Linked DNA regions of Homo sapiens: region 1 is linked to region 2. The links are contacts of gene promoters, found by promoter capture Hi-C in blood cells and fetal thymus (Javierre and others, 2016). All regions are on one chromosome and are shown on one strand. The core of a region is centred on a gene start or on the middle of the fragment in contact, and the rest is flanking DNA. Distances in the headings are between cores, read along the strand shown.

The links. The method cuts DNA at HindIII sites, captures the fragments that hold promoters and counts their contacts. A CHiCAGO score of 5 or more calls a contact.
Region 1: a fragment that was not itself captured here is called in contact with the fragment with the promoter of GANAB in region 2 in 1 of 17 cell types (total B cells); the score reaches 7.2 in total B cells.

The regions. Positions count from the first base shown.
Region 1 is chr11:62,433,405-62,439,308 of GRCh38, reverse strand. It overlaps a transcript of AHNAK not described here. Among named protein-coding and RNA genes, the nearest start is that of SCGB1A1, 17 kb to the right of the region's middle. RefSeq lists enhancers at 4,235-4,734, 4,735-5,236. The HindIII fragment of the contact is 1,261 bases long and covers 3,916-5,176 here.
Region 2 is chr11:62,642,551-62,648,413 of GRCh38, reverse strand. It overlaps GANAB (glucosidase II alpha subunit), which reads left to right and starts at 1,801. Exons shown (of 24, transcript NM_198334.3): 1 at 1,801-1,852. The coding sequence starts at 1,815. INTS5 (integrator complex subunit 5) reads left to right here. Exons shown (of 2, transcript NM_030628.2): 2 at 1-1,566. The coding sequence ends at 1,394. RefSeq lists a silencer at 1,630-1,709 and enhancers at 2,320-2,479, 2,795-3,602. The HindIII fragment of the contact is 15,573 bases long and covers 1-5,863 here.

The DNA of each region.
Region 1 (5,904 bases), core at 3,297-5,796, 210 kb after region 2:
CTGACTAAAACAGCGAAACCCCGTGTCTACTAAAAATACAAAAAAAATTAGCTAGGCGTGGTGGCGGGCGCTTGTAATCCCAGCTACTCGGGAGGCTGAGGCAGGAGAATGGCATGAACCCGGGTGGTCAGAGCTTGCAGTGAGCGGAGATCACGCCATTGCACTCCAGCCTGGGTGACAGAGCGAGACTCCATCTCAAAAAAAAAAAAAAAAAAAAAATAGGGAAACTGAGAGGGATGGGTGTCCATCCCTCTCCTTCCTGGTTCACTTTGGAAGATGCCACCTCTGTTAAGGGCCGCTCCTGTGGGATTTCAGCAATGCAGCCAGGTCAGCAGTGGTACCTGTTGATGCTACACAGCAACCTTAGGATGGCAGGCTGCATAGTCCAAAGGCCCAGGAAGTCATTATCATATGAGCATTCTCATGTGAGCCGGTCATGATTAGTTTTTCTATGAGACCTTTGCTCCTCATTGAAATAACAACAAATCAGTTGTCTCCACGCCAGAGGAAGATACCACATAAAGCAAGACTAAAAGGAGCAGAGAACAGAGAAGGTCTTCCTGGCCTTAGGGATGGGCAAACATTTCTAAAACAGAATGCAAACAGCACTAACCACAGAAGAAAAATCGATGAATTGGACTTTATCAAAATTAAATCCTCTCTTCATCCAAGGGCACCATTAAAAAAATGAAAAGGCAAGCCTCAGACCTGGAGAAGATATATATCTGCAATACATATGTCTGATAAAGTATTCGTTTCTAAAATATTTGAAGTACTGCAGATCAATAAGAAAACTAAAAATGACCCAATTAAAAAAATGAGAAAAAGAGGCCAGGTGCGATGGCTCATGCCTGTAATCTCAGCACTGTGGGAGGCCGAGGCAGGTGGATCACCTGTCAGGAGTTCGAGACCAGCCTGATAAACACGGTGAAACCCTGTCTCTACTAAAAATACAAAAATTAGCTGGACGTGGTGGCAGGCACCTGTAATCCCAGCTACTCGGGAGTCCGAGGCAGGAGAATTGCTTGAACCCGGGAGGCAGAGTTGCAGTGAGCCGAGATCACACCACTGCACTCCAGCCTGGGAGACAGAACAAAACTCAGTCTCAGGAAAAAAAAAAAAAAAAAGAGAGAAAGAAAAAGACTTGACCAGGCACTAACAAAAGAGGATACCCAGATGGCCAAATACACTGTGAAAAGGTGCTCAACATCATTATTCATCAGAAAATGCAAATGCGCTGGGAAATTAGCTGAGCCTGGTGGCACAAGCCTGTAGTCCCAGTTATTTGGGAGACTGAGGTGGGAGGATCATTTGAGCCTAGGAGTTTGAGGCTGCAGTGAGCTATGATCATGCCACTGCACTCTGGCCTTGGTGACAGAATGCAAAAGAAAAAAAAAGAACAACATAGACACACAAAACTCCCACAAAAAGATACTACTACACACCCACCATAATAGCTAAAATGAAAAGACTGACAATACCAAGTGTTGCTGAGAATATGGAACAACTAGAACTATTGCATATTGCTGTGGGGAGTGTGGAAGAGGTACAGCCACTGGGAACATTGTTTGGCAGATTATATTAAAGCTATAGATATGCCTGCTGTACAACCCAGAAATTCTACTCCTAAGTATTTGGGTAAGGGATTTGGGCTGGGCGTGGTGGTTCACACCTGTAATCCCAGCACTTTGGGAGGCCAAGGTGGGTGGATAACCTGAGGTCAGGAGTTCGAGACCAGCCTTGCCAATATGGTGAAACCCCGTCTCTACTAAAAATACAAAAAAAATTAGCTGAGTGTGGCAGATGAGTGCCTGTAATCCTAGGTACTCAGGAGGCTGAGGCAGGAGAATCACTTGAACCCAGGAGGCAGATGTTGCAGTGGCTGAGATTGCACCATTGCACTCCAGCCTGGCAGACAGAGTGAGACTCCGTCTCAAAACAAAACAAAACAAAGCTGAGGGGTTTGAGTGCCTATGCTGACAATAATGTATGTACAAAAATGTTCAAAGAAGTTTCTCCAAACCTGAAACACCCCAAATTCCCATCAACAGAAGATTGGAGAAATAAATTGGTGATCTATTCATATAAGAGTACTATGCAATGATGAAAAGATTATATGCTCTGATTCCATTAATATATGGTTCAGAAAGAGGCAAAGCTGATCTATAATGAGTCAAATCATGATTCTGTCTGGTGGGGATATGGATTGGGAGGGTGCATGAGGGAACGTTTTGGGGTGCTGGAAATATTCCTTATGTGGCCTGGAGTGGTGGTTATAGAAATGCCTATTTATGAAAATGATTATCAAGCTGTCCATTGTGTGCTTTATGTACTCTGATGAATGTATGTTATACTTCTTTTTTTTTTTTTGAGACAGAGTCTTGCTCAGTCACCCAGGCTGGAGTGCAGTGGCGCGATCTTGGCTCACTGCAAGCTCCGCCTCCTGGGTTCACGCCATTCTCCTGCCTCAGTTTCCCGAGTAGCTGGGACTACAGGCGCCCGCCACCATGCCCGGCTAATTTTTTTTTGTATTTTTGGTAGAGACTGGGTTTCACCGTGTTAGCCAGGATGGTCTCGATCTCCTGACCTCGTGATCCACCCACCTTGGCCTCCCAAAGTGCTGGGATTACAGGCGTGAGCCACTGCGCCCGGCCTATACTTTTTTTTTTTTTTTAATGAAAAGAAATGCAGATTTTCATGTCCAAGAGAAGTAATAACAATAATAATTTATGGAGCACCCAATATGTGCCTGGTTGCTTTATAGAGATTATTTGCCTTAATCTATCCAAACCACCTGTCAAAATGATATTCTTTTCTTGTTAGAGAGGAGGAAACTGAAGCTTAGAGAGGGACAATAGCTTGTCTGAGTATCACAGCTGGTAAGTGTGGGAGTTAGACTTGAATGCCATATTCTGCACTGTTGCCACTTGGCTTGGGATGTTGAGAGTGAATCTTGGTACAGCATCAAAGCTCTCTGTGTTGCCTGCTACTCCCCCGGAGCATCAGATGTTGCAGACACCATTCTTTAAAGAGAACTTCATTGTGTGAACCCCAAGTTCCCCCACCTTCTTCAAAACAAAAACATGAATTGGGAAGCCCAGCCCCTTTATGAACCCTTTCCATGAATTTGTTCCAATCAGGAAAAGAGCCTGCAACTTCCTCCCCACCCTGTTCATCCTAACTGTTCTGTGTTGTGAATTCGCTGAGAATGAAAGGGGATGGGCTAGAGCTGTCAATACTGTGAGCCAGGCTTGAACTCCAGCTCTGCTCCTTTTAAACAGTGAGGCTCTTGGGTAGTTATTTAACTTCTCAAAGCCTTTGTTTCCTGGTCTGTGAAAAGTGACAGTGGTACTTCCCTTCTAGTCTCACTGTGAGAGTTAAATGCGGTCATATGTAAGAAGTGCTCAGCTCAGCGACAGGTTCATAGCAAGTGTGCAATAAAAGGTAGTGTAGAAATGTCAAAACTGGCTGGGTGCGGCCAGCCTGCAATCCCAGCACTTTGGGAGGTCAAGGCAGGAGGATTGCTTGAGTCCAGGAGTTCAAGGCCAGCCTGAGCAATATAGTAAGACCCCATCTCTTAAAAAGATAAATAAATAGGCCGGGTGCGGTGGCTCAAGCCTGTAATCCCAGCACTTTGGGAGGCCGAGGTGGGCGGATCACGAGGTCAGGAGATCGAGACCATCCTGTCTAACACGGTGAAACCCCGTCTGTACTAAAAATACAAAAAAATTAGCCGGGCGAGGTGACGGGCGCCTGTAGTCCCCAGCTACTCGGGAGGCTGAGGCAGGAGAATGGCGGGAACCCCGGGGGGCGGAGCCTGCAGTGAGCCAAGATCGCGCCACTGCATTCCAGCCTGGGCAACAGCGAGACTCCGTCTCAAAAAGAAAAAAAAAAGATAAATAAATAAATAAAGCTTTCACTTTCCTGGTGCCTAATTCCTTCCAAGCCTCTTAAAGAGGCTTAGCACCTTTGCCCTCTAAATAATTCAACACACATTTGGAAGAAAGAAGTTATGTGAATGGTTTCTTCACAAAGTGTAACATATAGTGAATAAATGGGGCAGAATTGCAGGACTTCAGCAAGGAAAGGGGGGCATTTTGAACTAGAGTGGTCAGATGGTGGTATTATTTGGCTGAGTCTTCAAAAATGGGTAGGATTTAGTCACAGAGAGAAGACCAGGAAGGTCATTCTCAATTAGGGGGAGGGCAGGAGGTAGTTTTTAGGAGCCAAGGTAAAGTTTGGGAAGGGTGAGCAGGTGATTTTGGTTGGTGCTTGAAACTTGTGTAGGGACTAGTAGAAGATAAAGTAGGAAAGGAGGCCTGGTTCCAGATGAGGTCCCATTAAGAAAGCTGGCTTTTTTTTTTTTTTTTTTTTTTGAGACAGGGTCTTGCCATGTTGTCCAGGCTGAAGTGCAGTGACAGGATCTTGGATCACTGTGCAACCTCTGCCTCCCGGATTCAAGTGATTCTTCTGCCTTAGTTTCCTGAGTAGCTGGGATTACAGTGTGTGCCACCACACCCGGCTAATTTTTGTATTTCTTTTTAGTAGAGGCAGGGTTTCACCATGTTGGTCAGCCTGGTCTTGAACTCCTGACCTTAGGAGGTCCGCCTGCCTCGGCCTCCCAAAGTGCTGGGATTACAGGCGTGAGCCACTGCGCCTGGCCCGAAAGCTGGATTTGTTTCTGTTGGAAAAGGAGTTGCTGAACTTTCTTGAGCGCAGGAGGTGTAAGATGAAGCCTGGGGCATGCAGGCCCACGTGGGAGGTGAGAGAGACCAGGCCAGGAGGCCCATGAGAGGACAACCTGCGCATTCATGGGAGTCCGATGGGGATGAGTTGGGTGTGACTCGGGGAGGAGGCACTGGGCTGGGACAGAAGATGTAGTAGTTAGGCTCTGGGAGACGACAGGGAGGGAAGGTGAAGGGCCATGAAGTCTCAAAGCCAGTTGCTTGGGTTCATGAAGCAGAAAGGGTTCATGAAGAGGAAAGGGAAGAGAGAAAGTCAGTTTGGAGATGATAATGAAAGGGATTTCTTAATGGCTGAGGCTGGAGGTGGCAGCTGTTTTCACGGTTCCTACCTTCCTCTGTTATTTGAATGTTCTTGGGAACACACTGTCCTCTTCTGGTCTCGGGCTTGTATGGGGGGCACCAAAAGGACAGACTCGGGCTTTATGCAAGCTTCCTTTCCACCCTTGCCGCACAGAAACCACACAGAGGGAGGCGTGGCAAGACCAAAAGAGACCCAACAGCAGGATCCTTTCCAAATCTATCCCTTCCAGAGGCAAGCATTTGTTTGGATGCCCTAGCAAGGAGTGGGGGGACCTTCTTTCAGTTGGTGCAAAGTTAACGAACCATCTTCTGATTTTATGGAGAGATGCAAATAGTGTGTTGAATATAAATCTCTTTGTTGTTGTTTTACAGGACTGTAGAAGCGGCCAGGAAGAAAACCACCCCCTCTTAAGGTTGTTTTTGTGACCGTTCTTTGGAGCATTGTTCTAAAAATGGGAAATTACATATTGCTGTGCCAAGGGCAACAAACACCTGCAGTTAAAGGAATACCTTCCGCGAGGCGGCTTTTCGGAGCATGCATGTTTATAGCTCCAGCCAGGCCAGACCGAGGGCTGCTGCATAAGCCCTGCTTGGTGCATTTCTTTACTTGCAAGGGGACAGAGTGTGGGCTTAGGTTTGGGACTAGAGGGGGCTTTGGCAACTATGGTGCTCAGGTGATTATCCTTCGCTCGTTTATCCAATAAACATTTATCAAGCATCTGTTCTTGTGTCAACCTTTGTGGTTTTCTCTGTTCCCTTCCCTGGCGTTGTGAGAATCCCTGGGAGAGTTGGCCACAGGCAGCAGCTTGCTGTCACTATTTTTTTTTTTTTTTCAGTTTTCAGAGTCAGCACATGACTG
Region 2 (5,863 bases), core at 552-3,051:
GCTGTCTGGCTCGGGTGCATGCAGGGACATTACAGCCTCCCTTCACGGCCCGGTTCCTGCGCAACTTGGCACTGCTAGTAGGGTGGGAACAGCAGGGTGGCGAGGGCCCTGCAGCCCTAGGGGCGCACTTTGGGGAATCTGCCTCAGCCCATCTGTCTGACCTGGCTCCTCTCCTGCTACATCCTGAGGAGGAAGTAGCTGAAGCTGCTGCCTCTCTCCTGGCCATTTGTCCCTTTCCTTCTGAAGCCTTATCCCCCTCCCAGCTCCTGGGACTGGTAAGGGCTGGGGTGCACCGCTTCTTTGCCTCTCTGAGGCTGCATGGACCCCCAGGTGTGGCCTCAGCCTGTCAGCTTCTCACCCGCCTGTCTCAGACATCCCCAGCTGGGCTCAAGGCTGTCCTGCAGCTGCTGGTTGAAGGAGCCTTACATCGAGGCAACACAGAACTGTTTGGTGGGCAAGTAGATGGGGACAATGAGACTCTCTCAGTTGTTTCAGCTTCTTTGGCTTCTGCCTCCCTGTTGGACACTAACCGGAGGCACACTGCAGCTGTGCCAGGTCCTGGAGGGATTTGGTCAGTTTTCCATGCTGGAGTCATCGGCCGTGGCTTAAAGCCACCCAAGTTTGTCCAGTCACGAAATCAGCAGGAAGTGATCTATAACACCCAGAGCCTCCTCAGCCTCCTGGTTCACTGCTGCAGTGCCCCAGGGGGCACTGAATGTGGGGAATGCTGGGGGGCACCCATCTTGAGTCCAGAGGCAGCCAAAGCAGTGGCAGTGACCTTGGTGGAGAGTGTGTGTCCCGATGCAGCTGGTGCAGAGCTGGCCTGGCCCCCCGAGGAACACGCCCGGGCCACCGTGGAGCGGGATCTCCGCATTGGCCGGCGCTTCCGCGAACAGCCCCTGCTCTTTGAGCTGTTAAAGCTGGTAGCAGCTGCACCCCCAGCCCTGTGCTACTGTTCCGTGCTGCTTCGGGGGCTGCTGGCCGCCCTCTTGGGCCATTGGGAAGCCTCTCGCCACCCTGACACGACCCACTCCCCCTGGCACCTGGAGGCATCCTGCACCTTAGTGGCTGTCATGGCTGAGGGAAGCCTCCTGCCTCCGGCCCTGGGTAATATGCATGAAGTATTTAGCCAACTGGCACCTTTCGAGGTGCGTCTGCTGCTGCTCAGTGTCTGGGGTTTTCTCCGGGAGCATGGGCCCTTGCCTCAGAAGTTCATCTTCCAATCAGAGCGGGGTCGCTTCATTCGGGACTTCTCCAGGGAGGGTGGAGGTGAGGGTGGACCCCATCTGGCTGTGCTGCACAGTGTCCTCCACCGCAACATCGACCGCCTAGGTCTTTTCTCTGGCCGTTTCCAGGCACCTTCACCGTCCACTCTCCTTCGACAGGGGACGTAGCCTTTTCTTGCTCTGGAAGCCCAGGGAGGTTGAGCAGTGAGAGAGGGAAGGGACTAACGTGCTCCGGAAGGGTGGAGGTTTCTCTTCTAAGTCCTTGGTCTAAAGAGCGCTGTCACTTTTTTCTCTCCCACTTTTTTTTTTCTAAATAAAATTTGCCAACTTGAGAAAACCAGTCCAGTGCTTCTGTCATGCTGAGAGCGTGCAAAGTCTGACAGCGCCTGGCTCTGGACGTTCCCGCCCCTGGCCTGAAGCCCCGCCCCCTGCGATAATTTGGAGTGCGCACTCTACCAATGAGACAGCTGCCCGGCGGCGCTCAGGTCGAACCAATCATAAGGCCGGAAGGGGCGGGAACTAGGATACGTGGCTGAGCGCGCGCGATGGGGCGGGAGGTTTGGGGTCAAGGAGCAAACTCTGCACAAGATGGCGGCGGTAGCGGCAGTGGCGGCGCGTAGGAGGCGGTGAGGAGCCCGGAATCTGGGGGCGCGCCCGGGACGCCCCCAGATCCCCCAAGTCCCATTCCACTCCTTCCTGTGTGTCTCTTGACACTCTGCCACCCCCGGCCTCGTGAGGAACCTTTGTTCCTCTGGAGGCGGCCTCAGACGCCTCCGGTCTCCCCGTGGTAGATCCGAGCGACGCTGGGGGCCTTGCCTGTGGGGCTCCGGGCTCCCGCCCGGCGGTTTAGTAAAGCCACAGCTGTGCGTCTTTCTTGGTCTTGGCCGCTCTCAGCCGCCGCCCTCCTTTGGCTGCTTGCGGCGGTCAACGTCGCCGCCCCCTTCCTGCAGTGCGCGGGGTCGTCGGGGCGGGGGAAAAGATGCGGCCTGGCCTCGGGGAATGCAGCCTGCGGCCCCGCGGCCCCTCGGCTGAGCTGGAAGCACCGGGCCAGCAGTTAAGCCTGTACTACCCTTCTGGCTCTACCCTGTAGAGCTCCGAATCCTCCTCTGCCCTTGTCTTCACGTGAGCACCAGCTCTGGCTTAGTTCAGTGTCCACGGTCGCTGGGCACGGCCCAGGGTCCAGTAAGCTCACGGCGTGGATGGTGTTGCTCAAACACAACATGTAATCGAATGGCTTGGTCCACGCTCTCGGGTTTATATTACTGGGGAAAAAAAAAGATTCGAAACATATCACCAGTGCCACAAATGTTTACTAGGACCTAACGGATATACTGGGGTGGGGTAGGCGTGTACTCTCCAAAGCGATGAAGAAAGCGTGGATCATAAACTCAGTTCCCTCGGAGCCTGTGATCTGAAACAATAAATGCGTGCAACTTGCCCTGCAGCTTATTCCTGACTTTGGCCTATGAACACCTCTCTTGGGGTGGTCAAGGCCGCCGTGAATTCCTTAGGGCCCTCCAACAGGTCATATCTGAAAGATGCTTTAGGAATCCTATCTCCATTGGCATCTTTCCGAACCAATTTTACAGACTGTGCAAATAGGGCCCCAGAGGGTATTTAACTCACTGTACGTCTTTTTTTTTTTTTTTTGAGAGACAGAGTCTCGCTCTGTTGCCCAGGCTGGAGTGCAGTGGCGAGATCTCGGCTCACTGCAAGCTCCGCCTCCTGGGTTCACGCCATTCTCCTGCCTCAGCCTCCCGAGTAGCTGGGACTACAGGCACCCGCCACCACGCCTGGCTATTTTTTTGTATTTTTAGTAGAGACGGGGTTTCACTATGTTGGTGAGGATGATCTCGATCTCTTGACCTCGTGATCCACCCGCCTCGGCCTCCCAAAGTGCTGGGATTACAGGCGTGAGCCACCGCGCCCGGCCTCAACTCACTGTACTTCTATTTACTGCTGCTTTTGGCAGGTGGACGTGGGTCAGTGGCCAAGAGTGCCTGTTGCAGTCACTCAGGTCACTCACTGCAGGACCTGTGCCGCATGCCTTGCTATGGAGTTTTGTGGTAGCATTTATTCTGCTTGGCCTATTAAACCACAGTGCCTAGTGTTTTCTTCATTTTTCTGTCTGGCCTGCTGTGGAACAGTTGTTTCGTACATTCCTCTGGAGCTGGAGGAGAGTCCTGTGATGAGATCATAGTACACTCTGTGATCTCATTTCTGGTAATTTTCTTTTAGCTTTCAAGCAGATGCTGAAGCTAATGCTAGATAACTAGATACAATGTGTATAATAGACCCTGTCTTTAGTTACCTTATTATAGGTTGTCAAATTTTATTTATTTATTTATTTGTTTGTTTACTTATTGAAACAGGGTCTCGCTCTGTTGCCTAGGATGGAGTGCAGGGGTGCAATCTCGGCTTACTCCAGCTTCCACCTCCCGAGTTCAAGCGATTCTCCTGCCTCATCCTCCCGAGTCCTGGGATTACAGACGTGTGCCACCGTGCCCAGCTAATTTTTGTATTTTTAGTAGACACCCCATTGACCAGTCTTAATTAATTTACTTTTTTGAGACAGAGTCTTGTGCTGTGGCCCAGGCTGGAGAGCAGTGGTGCAATCGTAGCTCATGCAGCCTCAAACTCTTGCGTTCAGGCAGTCCTCCGGCTTCAGCCTCCTGATTAGCTGGGACTACAGGCACCTGCCACCATGCCTTGCTACTCTTTTTTTTTTTTAAGTAGAGACGAGGTCTTGCTGTGTTGCCCAATCTTCCCTTTTTGACCTCCCAAAGTGCTAGGATTATAGACGTGAGCCACTGTGCCTGGCTGGTTGTAAAACTTTATTGCTTAGAAGAACCCTCCCACCCCCAGTTTGAAACACTTTCTCAGAGTATGCTCGTATTCTGCCCATATCAGTGTCACTGGGAGAGCATGTTTAAAATGTGGTGTCAGCCGGGCACGATGGCTCACACCTGTAATCCCAGCACTTTGGGAGGCCGAGGCTGGCGAATCACCTGAGGTTGGGAGTTCGAGACCAGCCTGACCAACACAGAGAAACCCCGTCTCTACTAAAAATACAAAATTAGCCGAGTGTGGTGGCACGCGCCTGTAATCCCAGCTACTTGGGAGGCAGAGGCAGGAGAATTGCTTGAACCCGCGAGGCAGAGGTTGCGGTGAGCCAAGATCGTGCCATTGCACTCCAGCATGGGCAACAAGAGTGAAACTCAGTTTCAAAAAAAATTAAAAATAAAATGCGGTATCCAGGGTGGGTGCAGTGGCTCACGCCTGTAATTCCAGCATTTTGGAAGGCCAAGGTGGAAAGATGGCTTTAGCCTAGAAGTTCAAGACAAGCCTGGGCAACTTTTTTTTCTTGTTTTTGAGACAGAGTCACACTTTGTCACCCAGGCTAGAGTGCAGTGGTGCGATCTCAGCTCACTGCAACCTCTGACTCCCAGGCTCAAACCATTCTCGTTCCTCAGCCTCCCCAGTAGCTGGGATTATAGGCATGTGCCACTACGCCTGGCTAATTTTTGTATATATCTATTTTTTTCTAGGTGGTGTTTCGCTGTGTCGCCCAGGCTGGAATGCAGTGGCACAACCTTGGCTCACTGCAACCTCTGCCTCCCGGGTTCAAGCAATTTTCCTGCCTCAGCCTCCTGAGTAGCTGGGACTGCAGGCGTGTGCCACCATGCCCTGTTAATTTTTTTTTTGTATTTTTAGTAGAGACGGGGTTTCATCATGTTGGCCAGGCTGGCCTCAAACTCCTGACCTCAGGTGATCCACCCGCCTCAGCTTCACAAAGAGCTGGGATTACAGGTGTGAGCCACCACGCCCGGCCTAATTTTTGTATTTTTAGTAGAGATGGAGTTTCGCCATGTTGGCCAGGCTGGTCTAACTCCTGATCTCGTGATCTGCCCACCTGGGCCTCCCAAAGTGCCAAGATTATAGGTGTGAGCTACCATGCCTGGCTGATTCTTAACAGACATTAAAATTTGAGAATCTCTGTTTAGGATTTATTCAGAATCCTAAGGATGAATCCTGGATGAATATATTCTTCAAACTAACTTATTTAAATAAGCCTATTAGTCTCTTATCTGTCATTTCATAGCACATTGGGAAATTGACAATTCGTGATAACCTTGGGATGATGGTCCTCAATGAGACAGGCCCATTTCATCCTGCTAGTGATTAGTGTGCTGTATTGTGCATCATGGTAAAGCACATGGGCCCCAGAGTCAAGCACAACTGGGTTCAGTTCGTTTCATCCCTTACCAGCTATTTAATCTTGGGTGAACTATTCAACCTTTTATGCTTTAATTTTCCCATCTGGAAATAAACCCCAACCCTATATTCACCAAGAAAACAATGGAAGAAAGGGAAAAGAAGATGCATGTAAAGAAGTGGTTGTGAACCCAGGTTGCTCATTAGAGTTGTTTAGGGAACTTTAAAAAAACTTTAGCCAGTGGGGCGCGATGACACAACGCCTGTAATCCCAGCACTGTGGGAGACTGAGACGGGCGGATCTAGGTCAGGAGTTCGATACGAGCCTGGCCAACATGATGAAACCCCGTCTCTACTAAAAATACAAAAAATTAGCTGGGCATGGTGGTGGGCACCTGTAATCCCAGCTGCTCGGGAGGCTG